Regions from separate parts of the Homo sapiens genome. Here region 1 is linked to region 2. Evidence: promoter capture Hi-C in human tissues and cell types (Jung and others, 2019). All regions are on one chromosome and are shown on one strand. The core of a region is centred on a gene start or on the middle of the fragment in contact, and the rest is flanking DNA. Distances in the headings are between cores, read along the strand shown. Region 1 overlaps LINC02384 (long intergenic non-protein coding RNA 2384). Region 2 holds the start of RAP1B (RAP1B, member of RAS oncogene family).

Evidence for each region. Contacts are between HindIII fragments. The study calls those that stand out against the background at their distance.
Region 1: a fragment that was not itself captured here is called in contact with the fragment with the promoter of RAP1B in region 2 in 1 of the 25 tissues and cell types used here (H1 embryonic stem cells).

Annotation. Positions count from the first base shown.
Region 1 is chr12:68,437,013-68,439,712 of GRCh38, reverse strand. All of the region lies in intron 2 of LINC02384 (long intergenic non-protein coding RNA 2384), which reads left to right. Among named protein-coding and RNA genes, the nearest start is that of LINC02384, 13 kb to the left of the region's middle. The HindIII fragment of the contact is 5,738 bases long and covers 1-2,700 here.
Region 2 is chr12:68,609,555-68,612,254 of GRCh38, reverse strand. It overlaps RAP1B (RAP1B, member of RAS oncogene family), which reads right to left and starts at 1,356. Exons shown (of 8, transcript NM_001010942.3): 1 at 1,212-1,356. RefSeq lists a silencer at 1,040-1,499. The HindIII fragment of the contact is 12,288 bases long and covers 1-2,700 here.

The DNA.
Region 1 (2,700 bases), core at 123-2,622, 170 kb after region 2:
AAAAAATAAATTAACCCTGTCTTCTTATGGAAGAATGAAGATAATGATATAGCCTTACTTGTATTAACAGGCATGTGTGGCTGAAGGAAGTAGGGTAGACACTCCCTTTAATCTGTAGGCATTAGTTGATACTCCAAAGAAATATGCAAATGAGCAGGGTGGAGGGGCTGAGTGCGACTGCTCACATTTGCATTGTATGCATGTGAGAGTAAACAGTAAATCAATAGCAGAGGGGATATAGGTTGGATATAAGGCAATGTTTTCTGGTATGATATTAAAGATTGTTAAAAATGGGTCACATAACAGAGGAAGGTTGTGGAAACACCTTCCCTAGCGGCTTCAGAAAACAGGCCAGAGTTCCATTTTAGCCGGTTATTTTAGGCCTACTCCAGGCAGCAGGGTAGACTAGACATCCTCTTAGGGTCCAATCGTTCCGTTCCTCTGACCCATAATAAATAAAGCTATAGATGCCGTTGTTGCCAATACATACACAAATGCAAAATGCTTCTACACAGTCTTGTGGCTGTAAATGTTGCTAGTTCATCTTCTACTTAGTGTTCTGAATTCACCTTTTGTTTAGAAAATTACCTCAGTCTTTAAGCACGGCAATCTCTTTCTCTAAAGGATTTATTCTATATTTCAAAGCAAGAACTGCAATGCATACTAATTTAACGTTTGTATTGACACTTACCTTAAAATGTGGAGAATACAAGCTAGGAAAAAGGATTTAAAAAATAGCCTGCTAGTCCGACTAAGTTCCAGCATACAAACAGAGTGATCTGGACATGTTGTGTGTCATAATCCCAGTGAGGAGGCTGGGACACATTTTCTTTCTCTGCCTTTAAAGTGAAGGAAGGGAATGGTCTTGAATATGCAAATGAATCTAATTTAATTAACTTTTACGACCACAGCTCCTTTGAGATAATCATGGGAGCCAATTCGATTTCCTTAAAATTCAGCCATTTCCCTAAAGCCTCCATGAGACACCCTTGTCTTTTCCAAGAAAAAAACAAAAACAAAAGCAAAATGTGAAAAGATCTAATCAGAAACAATGAAAAAGAGTAAGTTATCTGCTGCAGTTCTTCTATTTGGTCTCACCAGAAGCTGCTCACACAGTCATTTACTTCAGTTTGTCACTCCTGAGTCTGGCGCTGCCAGCCGCAGAGTGAAATCATTTCAGGTCAGTCATGTAACTGCTGACCCAGAGTTTATCCTAAACTGGGGCTATGAAAGGTAAAGGTAATGATATTTCATGCTTCTGAGCAAAAACTCAAGCCTCGTGAGGCTGAGGGAAGAATTGCCTTGACCTCAGGCCAGAGATGAAGACGAATTTATGCCACTTCTTCCTTTGCCATAATATTCTTTCCTTGTCCTCCCCCTGATTACAAATATAATACATATTTATTGGCCAGGTGCAGTGGCTCATGTCTGTAATCCCAGCATTTTGGGAGGCCAAGGCAGGCAGATTGCCTGAGGCCAGGAGTTCGAGACCAGCCTGACAAACATGGTGAAACCCCATATTTACTAAAAATACAAAAATTGGCTGGATCTGATGGTACGCCTGTAATCCCAGCTACTTGGGAGGCTAGGGCAGGAGAATCACTTGCACCTGGGAAGTGGAGGCTGCAGTGAGCCAAGATCGTGCCACTGCAGTCCAGCCTGGGCAACACAGCAAGACTCTGTCTAAAAAACAAAAAACAAAAAGCACTCCATATTTATTGTGAAAAATAAAAAAGAGAACAGAATGACTAAAAGAAGCTGCTCAGATCTTGGAAGAGTTTGGAAGGCTCTTTCCCAATTTTGATTCCTTCTTTTCCCCTTAATAAGCAGACTTTTAGAGGACTTTGTGGGTGGTGGTTGTGGTGGTAGTGGAAGACGGGGGTGCTAAGTTTGTGAAGTGGGGATGTTACATTCAAGTTCTTTTTCTTTTTTTTTTCCTTAAAAATTTTTTTTTATTGTGGTAAAATACTCATAACATTTACCATTGTAATCATTTTTAAGTGTGCAGTTCTGTGGCATTAATTACATTTACATTGCTGTTACCCATTGCTGTCATCCCCCTCCAGAAATTTTTCATTTTTCCCAACTGAAACTCTGTGCTCATTAACGATAACTGTCCAGCTCTTGGCTACCACTATTCTACTTTCTGTCTCTATGAATTTGACTATTCCAGGTACCTCACATCAGTGGAATCATACAGTATCTTTTTGTGATTTGCTTATTTCAGTTAGCTTAATGTCCTCCAGTTTCATCCATGTTGTAGCATGTATCATGTCAAAATCTCCTTCCTTTTTAAGGGTGAGTAATATTTCATTGTACATATATATCACATTTGCTTTTCCATTCATTTGTCAATTGACACTTGGGCTGCTTCCACCTTTTCGCTGTTGTGAATAGTGCTGCTATGAACACGGGTATACAAATATCTCCTTGAGACCCTGCTTTCAATTATTTTGAGTATACACTCAGAACCTTCCTTTTCTTTTAAACCTATATTCCACACCACTCACCTCTCTTGTTTCTAACACTATGCAATTACATAGCTGCCCATGGTTTCTAAATCCTGGCCCCTGAATCATTGTTCATGGTTGAAAAGTATGTGGTGGTTCCACCCATTATCCGATCCACCTGAAAGTGCCTTGAGACACGTTCGGCAATGTGCAATTGGGTTTCTGGGAGCTATGCTACCTGCTAGTTCTA
Region 2 (2,700 bases), core at 107-2,606:
GAGCTGAAAAATAAATTTACAAGTCAGAGCTTTAAATTGTTAAGTACTCGACATATATGAGATGCTGCCTGCAAAACCAAAATCCAATTAGACGGAATTAATTTTAAAATACTAAAATCACAATCTTCATTTAGTGTCAACTTTCTACCCCGTAAAAATGTGATTTCCCCTTACTGCAACACAGAACTGCTTCTATTCATACCAATCAGAAGTTACAGGGCCAAAATGTTTTTCTAAACTATTAAAGAGAGTGGGAGAGGGGGGAAAGCGAAGGGGAAGGAAACCATCTGCTTTAACTTGCAAAAATGATCTTTTCTCCAAAAGACATCAGTGTTTTTCAGAAGAAAAATCCGGAGAGCCCGGTTCACTGGGCGTAGTTTTAAATAAAATTCATGGCGCTGATAGTTTTAGGATTAGACACCTCGAGATGGCGAAAAAGAGAAGAGGACAAACTTCCTGGATTTTCTCTCCCTCTAAGAGAAAGAGATTTCCTCTTGCTGACGAAGGGAAAGGCCCCTTTAACAGTTTTTCTCTACACGGTGGCTGCTGCCAGACTAAGTGGGGCTCTCTCCGCTGCCTTCCTCCTGCCACTTCCCGCAACAAATGGAGCAAGCAAGCCCCGTTTCAGGCAAACTTTTTCGCTGTCAGGCTCAAGCCCGCGGGGCGCCTGGGAGTGGTTTCCCCCGAAGGCTCCTCGCCCTAGCTCGGGGCTGGGAGAAGCTAGGTCTTCGCAAAGGACAACTTTCTGGTTTCCGTTCTAACTTCCACCCATACCACGGAGGGAACCCAGGCGACAAGCGAGGGGGCTCGGGGCGGGGAGCGAGTCTTCGGGGGAGCCGGCGGGGAAAGGAGGGCGGCGGGAGAAGCTGCGGCGGACGCGGGCTGAAGAGAGCGGGCGGGTGGGGGGGTCCTCGGGCTCTCACTTCCTCCGCCATATTTCAGACATTTGACCCCTTCCGCAAAGCGCGCTGTTCTCCCGCGGCGGCGGCGGCTGCTCCTCCTCGCCGGCCCGCAAGGCAGCGCGCTCGCGGGCCCGGCGCCTGGCCCTCGCGCCACCTGCCGCGCGCCGAGGGGCTGCCGCCGCCGGGGCCCCTGACCGCCGCGCCCGGCCCGCGCCTCGCCGCACCCCACCCGCTCCCCTCAGCCGGCGCCCGGCCCCGCGCGGCCGCCGCCGCGGCTTCCCTCAGCGGCCACGCACTCACTCTGCGAACCTCTCACGCTGTCACCGGGTCCCTGCAGCCAGCGTCGCCCCGCGCTCCCCCCGGGTCGCTACTCTAGGCGCCACGGCGGTCCTGCCGCTGCCGCGCCGCTCCGGCTGGTTTACACGCCTGAATCTGGGCGAGGTTTGGCGATGTCGCCTTGACGTCAGGCGTTCAGCCTCGCTCCAGCTTCCGCCCGCGGGCGGGGCGCGCGGGTGCGCGGCCCGGGAAGGGGCGGGCCTAGGGGGCGGGGCGAGGGGAGCCGAGGGGGCGGGGCCGCCGCGCGCCGGGTCCTCGGCGCCGGCCTCTAGCCGGCCTGCATCGCAGCCGGAGCGCAGGCCCTGCCCACGGGCCCCTTAGCTGCCTCTGGGCGGCATGTCTGCCGAGGTTCTTCTCTCTAGCTGCGCCGCGCCTTCAGGCTCGCTTCCCCAGGCTGTCTGGTGGGCGGAATCCGCGCGTCGGTGTTCCTGACCCTCGTGGGTTCCAGTGGAACCCTCCGAAACCCAAAAGGCGCCGCCTCTTAATGCAAACTGTAGTCACCGACTCGTCCAGTCTGTTGGTATTCGCGTCGTCCTTTGTGCTGGGCAAAGTAACCGAGAAGTAACGGAGAGCGCGCATTTTCTACACCTAGAGCTCCCCGAGGGAGCCTGGGCCAGCAAGTCTTTCCATTCTTGAGATGCCTTTTCTCCTGGATTGACAAGTGTTTTATCCATTGGTGTCTTAACCCGGGCGAACTCTTTCCAAATTCCCATGCCAAACGCAGTTAACAAATCGATGATTTCTAAATAAGTTTGTACCCTGCACCTAAACCAACGCCATTTATATAACTAAAATAAATTGCGTATTTAAATGCATGTCCTGGACGCTTTATTCACTTCACAGGATTACCCATAGGCAAGTAGGTTTATCGTGTGACTTCAGGGCACCAGAAAACACTTTCTGTTCCAAAATGCCTCGTTCCAAAAAGGGCGGGAACTTAACACGGGAATTTACCATTCTTACTTACCCTTAGTACAAGAAATTTATCAGAACTTTTTCTTGAAGCAGTTTTGATGGGCGAGGAGATTAAGAGAGCAAAGTGCAGGGAAAAGGGATTGAGGGGTCATTTAAGACTAACTTTCTTGGTTCATAATTTAATTAGGCCCTGTACAAATTATTCTTGAAATAAATCTTAATAAACGTTGATAAATTTGGAAGATAAATGGAATGTGACTAATTTCACTCCGTTTAAGAATATGTAGTGATTGAAAACTAAGCTAACCTAAGTTAAATGAATAGATGAGAATGAATTATAACAGTTCTCTGTGTTTTATAATGTTTTACAATTTAGGTTAATTGAGTAGATTACCTATTTCGATAATTTCTATTTCCTTAGAAAAATATCTTTTTAAAAATTGTTTATTGTCTGCATTTATTGTGTATACAACATGATCGTTTGAAGTAATGTATACATTGTTACATTACCTCACAGAGTTACCTTTTTTTTTGAGAGTCTTGCTCT